Linked DNA regions of Homo sapiens: all the other regions are linked to region 4. Evidence: promoter capture Hi-C in 16 types of primary human blood cells and fetal thymus (Javierre and others, 2016). All regions are on one chromosome and are shown on one strand. Each heading gives the region's core, a stretch centred on a gene start or on the middle of the fragment in contact. The rest is flanking DNA. Distances are from core to core; before and after follow the strand shown.

Evidence for each region. The method cuts DNA at HindIII sites, captures the fragments that hold promoters and counts their contacts. A CHiCAGO score of 5 or more calls a contact.
Region 1: a contact is called between a fragment that was not itself captured here and the fragment with the promoter of ZNF433 in region 4, in 1 of 17 cell types (megakaryocytes). The highest score is 5.7, in megakaryocytes.
Region 2: a contact is called between a fragment that was not itself captured here and the fragment with the promoter of ZNF433 in region 4, in 2 of 17 cell types (erythroblasts and megakaryocytes). The highest score is 6.1, in erythroblasts.
Region 3: a contact is called between a fragment that was not itself captured here and the fragment with the promoter of ZNF433 in region 4, in 2 of 17 cell types (erythroblasts and fetal thymus). The highest score is 7.4, in erythroblasts.

The regions. Positions count from the first base shown.
Region 1 is chr19:11,917,906-11,920,605 of GRCh38, reverse strand. It overlaps a transcript of ZNF69 not described here. Among named protein-coding and RNA genes, the nearest start is that of ZNF700, 5.9 kb to the left of the region's middle. The HindIII fragment of the contact is 3,549 bases long and covers 1-2,700 here.
Region 2 is chr19:12,144,187-12,146,886 of GRCh38, reverse strand. It overlaps ZNF625 (zinc finger protein 625), which reads left to right. Exons shown (of 4, transcript NM_145233.4): 4 at 663-1,997. The coding sequence ends at 1,590. All of the region lies in intron 3 of ZNF625-ZNF20 (ZNF625-ZNF20 readthrough (NMD candidate)), which reads left to right. Among named protein-coding and RNA genes, the nearest start is that of ZNF20, 5.2 kb to the right of the region's middle. The HindIII fragment of the contact is 699 bases long and covers 986-1,684 here.
Region 3 is chr19:11,948,252-11,950,951 of GRCh38, reverse strand. It overlaps ZNF700 (zinc finger protein 700), which reads right to left. Exons shown (of 4, transcript NM_144566.3): 4 at 189-2,676. The coding sequence ends at 699. It also overlaps a transcript of ZNF69 not described here. Among named protein-coding and RNA genes, the nearest start is that of ZNF763, 15 kb to the left of the region's middle. RefSeq lists a silencer at 1,034-1,263. The HindIII fragment of the contact is 2,391 bases long and covers 184-2,574 here.
Region 4 is chr19:12,034,240-12,036,939 of GRCh38, reverse strand. It overlaps ZNF433 (zinc finger protein 433), which reads left to right and starts at 1,261. Exons shown (of 4, transcript NM_001308348.2): 1 at 1,261-1,403. The coding sequence starts at 1,401. ZNF433-AS1 (ZNF433 and ZNF878 antisense RNA 1) reads right to left here. Exons shown (of 3, transcript NR_134929.1): 2 at 1,168-1,386. RefSeq lists silencers at 1,147-1,306, 1,547-1,596, 1,607-1,726. The HindIII fragment of the contact is 7,472 bases long and covers 1-2,215 here.

The DNA of each region.
Region 1 (2,700 bases), core at 97-2,596, 120 kb after region 4:
TCCCACTAAGTCTCTTTCATTTGGCCTGGCACAGTTTCCCATGCCTTAATCCCAGCACGTTGAGTGGTCGAGGCAGGTAGATTGCTTGAGCCCAAAAGTTTGGCCTATGACCACCTTGGGCAACATAGTGAGAACTAGTCTCTATTTTATTAAAAAGAGAAATACACACACACATATTTATATACATAAAACAGGGCGAGCATAGTAGCTCACGCCTGTAATCCAAGAACTTTGGGAGGCCAAAGTGAGTGGATCACCTGATATCAAGAGTTCAAGACCAGCCTGGCCAACATGGTGAAACCTTGTCTCTAACTACCAATACAAAAATTATCCGGACATGGTAGTGCACACCTGTGATCCTGGCTATTCTGGAGGCAGAGGCAGTAGAATCGCTTGAACCCAGGAGGCAGAAGTTGCAGTGAGCTGAGATCACGCCATTGCACTCCAGCCTGGACAACAGAGCACAAACTCCATCTCAGGAAGAAAAAAAAAAAAAAAAAAGTAAAAGTTCCTTTTTTGTCCCAAGTCGTTATGGGCTATCACTACTATCACCAGTAGTTGCCTATGAAGCACACCTATTCTCACAATGGGTCCAAGAGGAAAAGTAGAAGATTTGGAGACATTCCAGGTAGATCCAAATGCAGCACGATATCATATACGATAGTATATGATTTATGTGAGGACTCTTGGGATGACTTAGCTGAGGCTGGTATAACAAAATACCATGGACTCAGTTTCTTAAACAGCAGAATTTTTTTCTCACAGTTCTGGAGCTTCGGGAGTCCAACATCTTGCTGCCAGCAATTTTGTTCCTAGTGAAGAGTGTCTTCCTGGCTTGCAGCTAGATGACTTCTTGCTGTGTCCTCACATGCTGGAGAGACAGAGTTCTCTCTCTCTTCTTACTCATCCCATTGTGAGAGCCCTCCTTTATAAATGTATGTGATCTCCTAAAGGGTTCGTGTCCAAATATGACCATGTTGGGGTTTAGGGCTTGCAAGTATAAGTTTTGTTTTTGAGACAGGGTCTCCCTGTGTGGCCCAGGCTGGTTTTAAACTCCTGGGCTCAAGGGATCCTCATGCCTCGGCCTCCCAAATACTGGGATTACAGGAGTGAGCCACCACACCTGGCCTCCAAGTATATATTTTGAGGAGAGTAAATACAAGACACGCCAAGGGGTAAACAGAAGCCCAAAAAGAGGCTTTGGAGACGATGTAATCAGACAGGACTTTATCACATAGCAGATGGGGAGCAAGAGTCACAAAGGAGTGAGGTCTAATTTCAGAATGGCAGAGAGAAGGGACATCGAGGTAGCTGTATGATTGCATGAAGGATGAAAATGCTGCCAGAGCCACTACATGGAAAAGTATTGTAATTATCTAGGAAAAAATGAGAATAAAAAAGAAAAACAAGGGGCCAGGCGCGGTGGCTCACGCCTGTAATCCCAGCACTTTGGGAGGCCAAGGTAGGCGGATCACGAGGGCAGGAGATTGAGACCATCCTGGCTAACACGATGAAACCCCGTCTCTACTAAAAATACAAAAAATTAGCCGGGCGTGGTGGCGGGCGCCTGTAGTCCCAGCTACTCAGGAGGCTGAGGCAGGAGAATGGCGTGAACCCGGGAGGCGGAGGTTGCAGTGAGCGGAGATCGCACCACTGCACTCCAGCCTGGGCGACACAGCGAGACTCCGTCTCAAAAAAAAAAAAAAGAAAAACAAGTAATCATAATGAAAATGGAAAACAGAAAATGAAAAACAGAATAACCTTGGTTAGTATGCAGTTGTTAAAGATTTTAAATAAAATATTTGTCAGAAACATGTACAGATATCTTGGTTTTAAAAAAAAAACCCTAATTGCTGAGCATGGTGGATCATGTCTGCAATCCTAGCACTTTGGGAGGCCGAGGCAAGAGGATTGATTGAGCCCGGGAGTTCGAGACCAGCCTGGGCAAAACCGTGACACCCTTGTCTCTACAAAAAATTTTTGAAAATTAGCTGGGCAGAAAGCCGAGGTGGGAGGATTGCTCAAGCCCAGGAGCTTGATGCTGCAGTGAGTGACCAGAACACTGCACTCCAGCTGGGCTACAGAGCAAGGATGTCTCAAATTAAAATAAAAGAAAACGAGGAGAAAAAGAGAGATAACTACAAATTAGTCAAATGTAAGAGGATGACTGGATACTGCTACACAGAAGATGAAAGATTATATAAGAAAAATGCTCAACCAATGGCAACAAATAAAAAGCAATAAATAATCACACAGAGATTCTGTTTAAGAGTAAATGGGCGACGAAAAGTGAGTTAGATAATTCAAAGTGTTGGCAAATCACAAGAATAAAGGCACGTGCATGAAAGGTGAGATGGTTAATTCATAAGTTACATTCATACTGTACTGACATTTCCTAGTAAATTTGAATTTACCCATAATCTACAACCCAGCAATTATTTCCCAATGTGTAAAACTTTGTGTTGTATTTCCAGTTAGGAATAAAAACAAGAAAAGCATTGTCAATAAGATCAAGAGATAGGCTGGGCATGGTGGCTCATGCCTGTAATCTCAGCACTTTGGGAGGCCGAGGCGGGTGGATCACCTGAGGTCAGGAGTTCGAGACCAGCCTGGACAACATGGTGAAACCGTCTCTACTAAAAATGCAAAAATTAGCTGAGTGTGGTTGCAGGTGCCTATAATCCCAGCTACTCAGGAGGC
Region 2 (2,700 bases), core at 86-2,585, 110 kb before region 4:
AGAGATTGCTTGAGCTGAAGAGTTTGAGGCTACACTCGGCCATGATAGCACCATTACACTCTAGCCTGGGTTAAAGGGCAAGACCCTGACTCAGAAGCAATAAAATTGACAAAGACAGTTAGTACTTGTAAAATAGTTTACCTGAAAATAGTGTTGGCCGGGCGCCCAGGTGTATGCCTGTAATCCTAATGCTTTAAGAGGCTGAGGTGGGCAGATTGCTTGAGTCTAGGAGTTTGAGACCAGCCAGGGAAATGTGACAAAACCCCATCTCTAGCAAATATACAAAAATTAGCCAGGCACGATGGTATGCTTGTAGCCTCAGGTAATCAGGAGGCTGAAGTGGCAGGACGGCTTCAGATCGGGAGATGGAGGTTGCAGTGAGCTGAGATCTCACCACCGCACTCCAGCCTGGATGACAGAGTGAGACCCTATCTCAAAAAATGTTTAAAAAGTACTAAGAAGCCCTATATCAATATTATCTTTCTTGATAACAGGTATAGCTGGGCCATCTTGTAGAGCATGTGTGGTCTGTTCATGTTCAGACAGGGCAGAAAGCCTACACATTGCTGTACAGTGTTAGAAATACAAGTGCAATGACTTGTTAATGAATATCAAATCAGTGATAAAGGAACCCATTATGATATACTTCTCATTGTTCACAGAGGTCTTATGGGAGAGAGACTCTTAGAAAGTAAGAAAGATCATCAGCATGGAGAAATTTTGACCCAGGTTCCAGATGACATGCTGAAGAAGAAAACTCCCCGAGTAAAATCATGTGGAGAAGTCAGCGTGGGTCATGCATCCCTTAATAGGCACCACAGAGCTGACACTGGACACAAGCCATATGAGTATCAGGAATATGGACAGAAGCCATATAAATGTACATACTGTAAGAAAGCCTTCAGTGATCTCCCCTACTTTCGAACACATGAATGGGCTCACACTGGGGGGAAACCTTATGATTGTGAGGAATGTGGAAAAAGCTTTATTTCCCGTTCAAGCATTCGAAGACACAGGATAATGCACAGTGGAGATGGACCCTACAAATGTAACTTTTGTGGGAAAGCCTTGATGTGTCTCAGTTTGTATCTTATCCACAAACGAACTCACACTGGAGAGAAACCATATGAATGTAAACAGTGTGGTAAAGCCTTTAGTCATTCTGGTAGCCTTCGAATACATGAAAGAACTCACACTGGAGAGAAGCCTTATGAATGCAGTGAGTGTGGGAAAGCATTCCATAGTTCCACATGCCTCCATGCACATAAAATAACTCACACTGGGGAGAAGCCGTATGAATGTAAACAGTGTGGGAAAGCCTTTGTTTCTTTCAATTCCGTTCGATATCATGAAAGAACTCACACTGGAGAGAAGCCCTATGAATGTAAGCAATGTGGGAAAGCCTTCAGATCTGCCTCGCACCTTCGAACACATGGAAGGACTCACACTGGAGAGAAACCCTATGAATGTAAACAATGTGGTAAAGCCTTTGGATGTGCCTCGAGCGTTAAAATCCATGAAAGGACTCACACTGGAGAAAAACCCTGTAGCTCCAACACTTCGAAAGGCCAAGGCGAGAAGATTGCTTAATTCACATAAGATTCCTAGAAGCCACCGAATCCAATCATGGTAAAAATGTGTTTCCCTCAAATCATGGGAACCATCGCAAAATTATTCTGAAGCTTCTGCAGTCACTGTCATTTGACAGCATTCAGAAATAAATGCCAGTAGCCCAGGAGCAAAAATTTTTGGGAGTAGTTTAGCTGGGGCCTCACTCAGATACCTAGGACACAGAGTTGGAAATAACTCTTAAGAGAGACACACCTCCAGTAAGACCTTAAGACAGTTCTGTCATAAAAAAAATACGAGGTTTGGCCGGGTGCAGTGGCTCATGCCTATAATCCCAGCACTTTGGGAGGCCGAGGCAGGCGGACCACGAGGTCAGTAGTTCGAGACCAGCCTGGTCAATATGGTGAAACCCCATCTCTACTAAAAAATACAAAAATTAGCCAGGTGTGGTGGCGCCTGTAGTCCCAGCTACTCAGGAGGCTGAGGCAGGAGAATTGCTTGAATACAGGAGGTGGAGGTTGCAGTGAGCTAAGATTGCGCCACTGCACTCCAGCCTGGGTGACAGAGTGAGACTCCGTCTCAAAATAATAATAATAATAATAAGGTTAGCCCAGCAAAGTGGCAGGTATATATATACAGGAAGGTCAGAAAAATCTTTTCCCTCCTATTGAAAGCCCAATACCTAAGTGGCAAGCCCTCATTTTAAGAAACTCACTAAAGGGATAACGGAAGTGCCATTGTCAGACTCACTGCCTCAGAAAGCTTTATCAAAACAAAAGGCTAAAGTTCCTATTCAAAAATATCCTATAATAAATGGCTGGCTATCGGGTACACTACGTATTTTATGCCATTCGTTCTCACGAGTTTTCTTTTTTTTTTTTTTTGAGACAGAGTCGGGCTCTGTCTCCCAGGCTGGAGTGCAGTTGCACATTCTCAGCCCACTGCAACCTCTGCCTCCTGGGTTCAAGCGATTCTTCTGCCTCAGTCTCCCGAGTAGCTGGCTTTACAGGCATGAGCCACCATGCCCAGCCTCTAAACTCTTTTTTTTTTTTTTTTTTTTTTTTTTTTTTTTTTTTGAGACAGAGTCTCACTCTGTTGCCCAGGCTGGAGTGTGTTGGTGTGAGCTCGGCT
Region 3 (2,700 bases), core at 130-2,629, 86 kb after region 4:
CTTGATCTCTTCACCTCGTGATCCGCCTGCCTTGGCCTCCCAAAGTGCTGGGATTACAGGCGTGAGCCACTGTGCCCGGTGCAAAAAGTAAACTTTCCATGAGGAAAAAGATGCCTGGCATTTTATCCACATGGTAATACTGACTCACAATGTCCAAATAATAACAATGTAACATTATAAGCTTGATCTAATACATAAAACCAATGGGATATTTTATTATACCTTCTTATTTAAAAAGAATAACATGTTAGTATACTTATGATAATTGTTTACATTAATTATCTGTATTCAAAGAATCTTGGCAGATCTGAAGGCTTTCCCATACTGCTTACATTCATAGAGTTTCTCCCAAGTGTGAACCCTTCCATGCCGTTGAAGGTGCGAGGCACATCTGAAGGCTTTCCCACATTGCTTACATTCATAGGGTTTCACTCCAGTGTAAGTCCTTTCATGATATCAAACGGAACTAGAATACACTCATAGGGTTTCTCTCCCGTGTGAGTCCTTTCATGACATTGAAAAGAAGTAAAAGGAATGAAGGCTTTCCCACACTGCTTACATTGATAGGGTTTCTCCCCAGTGTGAGTCCTTTCATGATATCGAAAAGAACTGGAAAATGTGAAAGTTTTGCCACATTGCTTGCATTCATAGTGCTTCCTTCCAGTGTGAGTCTATTCATGTCCATAAAAGGAACCAGGCTAGCTGAATGCTTTCCCACAATCCTTACATTCATATGGCTTCTCTCCCATATGAGTCCTTGCGTGTATATGCAAGGAAGAAAAATAATTGAATGCTTTTCCGCATTCCTTACATTCATAGTGTTTCTCTCCAATGTGTGTTCTTGCATGTATTTGAAGAATCTTGGCAGATGTGAATCCATTCCCACAATGCTTACATTCATAGGGCTTCTCTCCTCTGTGCTTCCTTTCATGTATTTGAAAAGAAGAGAATTTACAGAATGCTTTTTCGCATTCCTTACATTCATAGGGTTTCTCTCCAGTGTGAGTCCTTTCATGCATCTGAAGGTTTGAGGCAGATCTGAAGGCTTTCCCACATTGCTTACACTCATAGGGTTTCTCTCCAGTGTGAGTCCTACCATGCTTTCGAAGGTTTGAGGCACAACTGAAGGCTTTCCCACATTGCTTACACTCATAGGGTTTCTCTCCAGTGTGAGTCCTTTCATGCATTCGAAGGTGTGAGGCAGATCTGAAGGCTTTCCCACATTGCTTACACTCATAGGGTTTCTCTCCAGTGTGAGTCCTTTCATGATATCGAAGGGAATTGCAACATCTGAAGGCTTTACCACATTGGTTGCATTCATAGGGTTTCTCTCCAGTGTGAGTTTTTTCATGTGTTTGAAATGACTTGGCAGAATAAAAGCCTTTCTCACATATACTACATTTATAAGGTCTTTCTCCAGAGGGCATTCTTATGTGTTTTTCTGTCCTTTCATGAATTTGAAGGTGCTTCACATATCTGAAGGCTTTCCCACATTCCTTACATTCATAGGGTTTCTCTCCAGTATGAGTCCTACCATGCACTCGAAGGTGTGAGGTAGATCTGAAGGCTTTCCCACATTCCTTACATTCATAGGGTTTCTCTCCAGTGTGAGTCCCACCGTGCACTCGAAGCTGTGAGGCAGATCTGAAGGCTTTCCCACACTGCTTACACTCATAGGGTTTCTCTCCAGTGTGAATCCTTTCATGATATCGAAAGGAACTGGAAAGATTGAAGGCTTTACCACATTGCTTGCATTTATAGCGTTTCTCTCCAGTGTGAGTTTTTTCATGTGTTTGAAATGACTTGGCAGAATAAAAGCCTTTCCCACATATCTTACATTTATAAGGTCTTTCTCCAGAGTTCATTCTTATGTGTGTTTGAAAACTTATAAGATAGGATAAGCCTTCCCCATATTGCTTACATTCATACGGTTTTTTCCCAGAGTGGGTCCTTTCATGTCTACGAAGAGAACTGGTATATGCAAATGCTTTTCCACATTCTTTGCATTGATAAGGCTTCTCTCCCATGTGACTTCTTTCATGTCTATGATAGGAACTAGAACTATGAAATGCTTTATCACATTTGCTACATTCATAGGGCTTCTCCCCAGTGTGAGTTCTTTCATGTATTTGAAGGGTAGCAGAATAAGTAAAGGATTTACCACATTGTTTACATTCATATGGTTTCTCTCCAGTGTGAGTTCTTTCATGGATAAGATATAAACTGAAAGAATGGAAGGCTTTCCCACAAAATTTACATTTATAAGTTCCATCCCCACTGTGCATTACCATGTGTCTTCGAATGCTTGAATGGAAAATAAAGGTTTTTCCACAGACTTTACAAGCATAGGGTTTCTCTCCAGTGTGATCCCTTTCTTGTGTTCTAATGGATGGGCGATACCTGAAGGCTTTCTTATTTTTAGGTTGTTGACACTTATATGGCTTTGGTCCATATTCCTGATACTCATATGCCTTGTGTCCAGTGTCACCTCTGATGCTCATATTAAAAGATGAGTTACCTATGCCAACTTCTGCACACACAAAGCTGTCACATGATTTTACTTCAGGAGAAGCTTTCTTCTCCTGGAAGTTCAGTCTGTCATCTGGAACCTGGGTAAAAGTTTCTCCACAATGACTGTCTTCTTTAATTTCATTGACTTTCTCTTCTATGAGACTCCTGTAAAACATGAGAAACACATCA
Region 4 (2,700 bases), core at 12-2,511:
CACCAAATTATCTTTAAAACCCTAGCCTCGGCCGGGTGCGGGGGCTCAGGCCTGTAATCCCAGCACTTTGGGAGGCCGAGGCGGGTGGATCATGAGGTCAGGAGTTTGAGACCAGCCTGACCAACATGGTAAACCCCGTCTCTACTAAAAATACAAAAATTAGCCGGGCATGGTGGCGCATGCCTGTAATCCCAGCTACTCAGGAGGTTGAGGCAGGAGAATCGCTTGAACCCGGGAGGCGGAGGTTGCACTGAGCCGAGATTGCGCCACTGCACTCCAGCATGGGCGACAGAGAGATTCCGTCTCAAAAAAAAACCAAAAAAACAAAACCTAGCCTCCCATTTTTTAGGGAGACAGAATTGAATAAAAATAAAACTCTTCTCTTTCATTTAGCCGGCTCTATGTATATTAAACTCCACTGCAATTCCCTGTCTTTTTTTTTTTTTTTTTTTTCGGAGACAGGGTCTCACTCTGACATCCAGGCTGGTAAAATCACAGCTCACTGTGGCCTCGACCTCTCTGGGCTCAGGCGATCCTCTCATTTCAGCCTTCCGAGTAGCTGGGACTGCAAACATGTACCACCACGCCCGACTAATTTTTGTATTTTTTGTAGAGGCGGGGTTTTGCTATGTTACCCAGGCTGGGCTTAAGTTCCTAGGCTCAAGCAATCTGCCTGCCTTGGCTTCCCAAAGTGGTGGGGTTACAGGCATGAGCTACCCCCACCCCCCCAGCCCACCGCCGGACGAGCTAAAGTTTCTATTCAACAGTACTCTATGGCAGGGGTCCCCAACCCCCGGTCCATGGCCTGTAAGGAACCAGTCCGCACAGCAGGAGGTGAGCGGCTGGCGGGCGAGCCAGCGGGCATTATCGCCAGAGATATGCTTCCTGTCAGATCAGCAGAGGCATTAGTCTGTCATAGGAGCCCGAACCCTATTGTGAGCTGCACATGCGAGGGATCTAGGTTGGGTTCGCCTTATGAGGATAAAATGCCTGATCTGAGGTGGAAGTTTCATTCCGAAACTATCTGCCCCCGTAGGAGAACTGTCTTCCACGAAACCGGTTCTGGTGCTAAAAAGGTTACAGACCTCTGGCTTAAAGAATCTATCGCTGGATCCGGTCAAACCCGTTTTCAGAGCCCCGTTACCAAGGGCTTCTATTGTCACTCACGGCTGAGGGGGCGGGGCCCGGCGCTTCGTCCAATCAGGGGCGCTGGGCGGGGCCTGCCGAGTGTCCATCGGGGAGGGCGAAGGCCCTGCTCTCCTCGGTTCCCGGCTCCAGGCGGCGAGCTGAGGTTGGGAGCCTGGCTTTCCCCTCCGAGAGGGTTCAGGTGCCTCTGCCATAGCTTCTGTCGCCTGTGCTGTGACCCGCACTGGTCGTGGGAGTCACCTGAAAGGCAAGAAATGGTGAGCGTGCGGGCCAGGGGTCCCGAGGCGGGGGAGGAGCTGGTTGGAACCGGCCGGAACCGGCTGTGGTGGGACCCGGGCCTCCCCGCGGCGACTCCGGGGTCTGGGACCCGATTTCCCGTGGGACAGCTCGGCCCTTGGTCCCCTTGGCCCCACAGTGGGGCTGGGCCGGCCGCCGGGACCCGGGCGTCTCGTCCTGTCCCTGCGCGGTGACTGTCACCCAGTTCCCAGAGCCCTCTCTGGGCAGCTCCGCGCCCGCTGCCCCGCGTCTCCCCACATTGTGCGGGGACTACGCGAGGGTCATGGGGGGATCCCGCCTCGGGTGTGGGGGTTTGTGTAGGAGGAGGGTGGGCTGTGGGGTCCCCAGTAGCGCCTTTCTCCTCTTAAAAATTAAACTGAGACACGTTAACAATTATAGTTTTGCTTCTCAGAATAGGTTTTAAAAAATATATTAATAATTAGAGTTCCTTTGAGATTCCTGAATGATAAACACCCAGTCCTGGCTTGTAATTTGTTAACGGAAAATGCCAAGCTGTGTAAAATAACTTAAAGAAGTTTATTCAGAGCCGAATAGGAGAGGCCTCAGCTGAGGAAAACACAACCCCAGGAGGCCTGAAGTAAGTGGTCCCGAGGCGGCTCAAGACTGTTTTTATTCATTTCAGGGAGACAGGAATTGCAGGGAGAATCATGCATCAATGCCTGGAAAGGTGTAAGTTCCTTTGGCAGAAAGGGCGGGACCTGTGGAAGGGGGGTTAGAAGGTGCAGGTGGTTGAGGGATTCTGAAGGTGGCCGTTGGTGGAGAGTGTGAAGCTTTGTCTAAAACTTCGAGGCGGTAGGAAGGATTGCTTAAGTGAAGAGGGTCTGGTATCTGTCATATGATTTCATCCCACCCAAAACAAAAGACCTGTTTCTTTAGATTTTGTGAATTCTAAGATTTGACTTACCTCTTGCCTTGCATGGCCTTAGGTCTTGTTTGTAATTTGGTTTCTTATTGTCACAGAGAGTCTGTGTTTCCAGTTGGCTGATGTCTGTTTTAACATGAAGGTGGGTCAGTGGCTATGTGGAAACTCCTAAAGGAAGCGGGTATAATGAGGCCTGTCCAGGTATAGTGAAGCCTGTCTGATGGTTAATCTGTAGTCAAGTGTGGGAGGGTTCCAGCTGGCTCTTTCCAGTGTCAGGTGACTCAATTCCAGAGTCACATTACTTTAAACTTCAAGATAATTTAGAGTTCCAACAGCTTCAATTTTTGAATTACTTATTTTCACAGACCATACAGTGGAAAATTTTTGGTTGTATA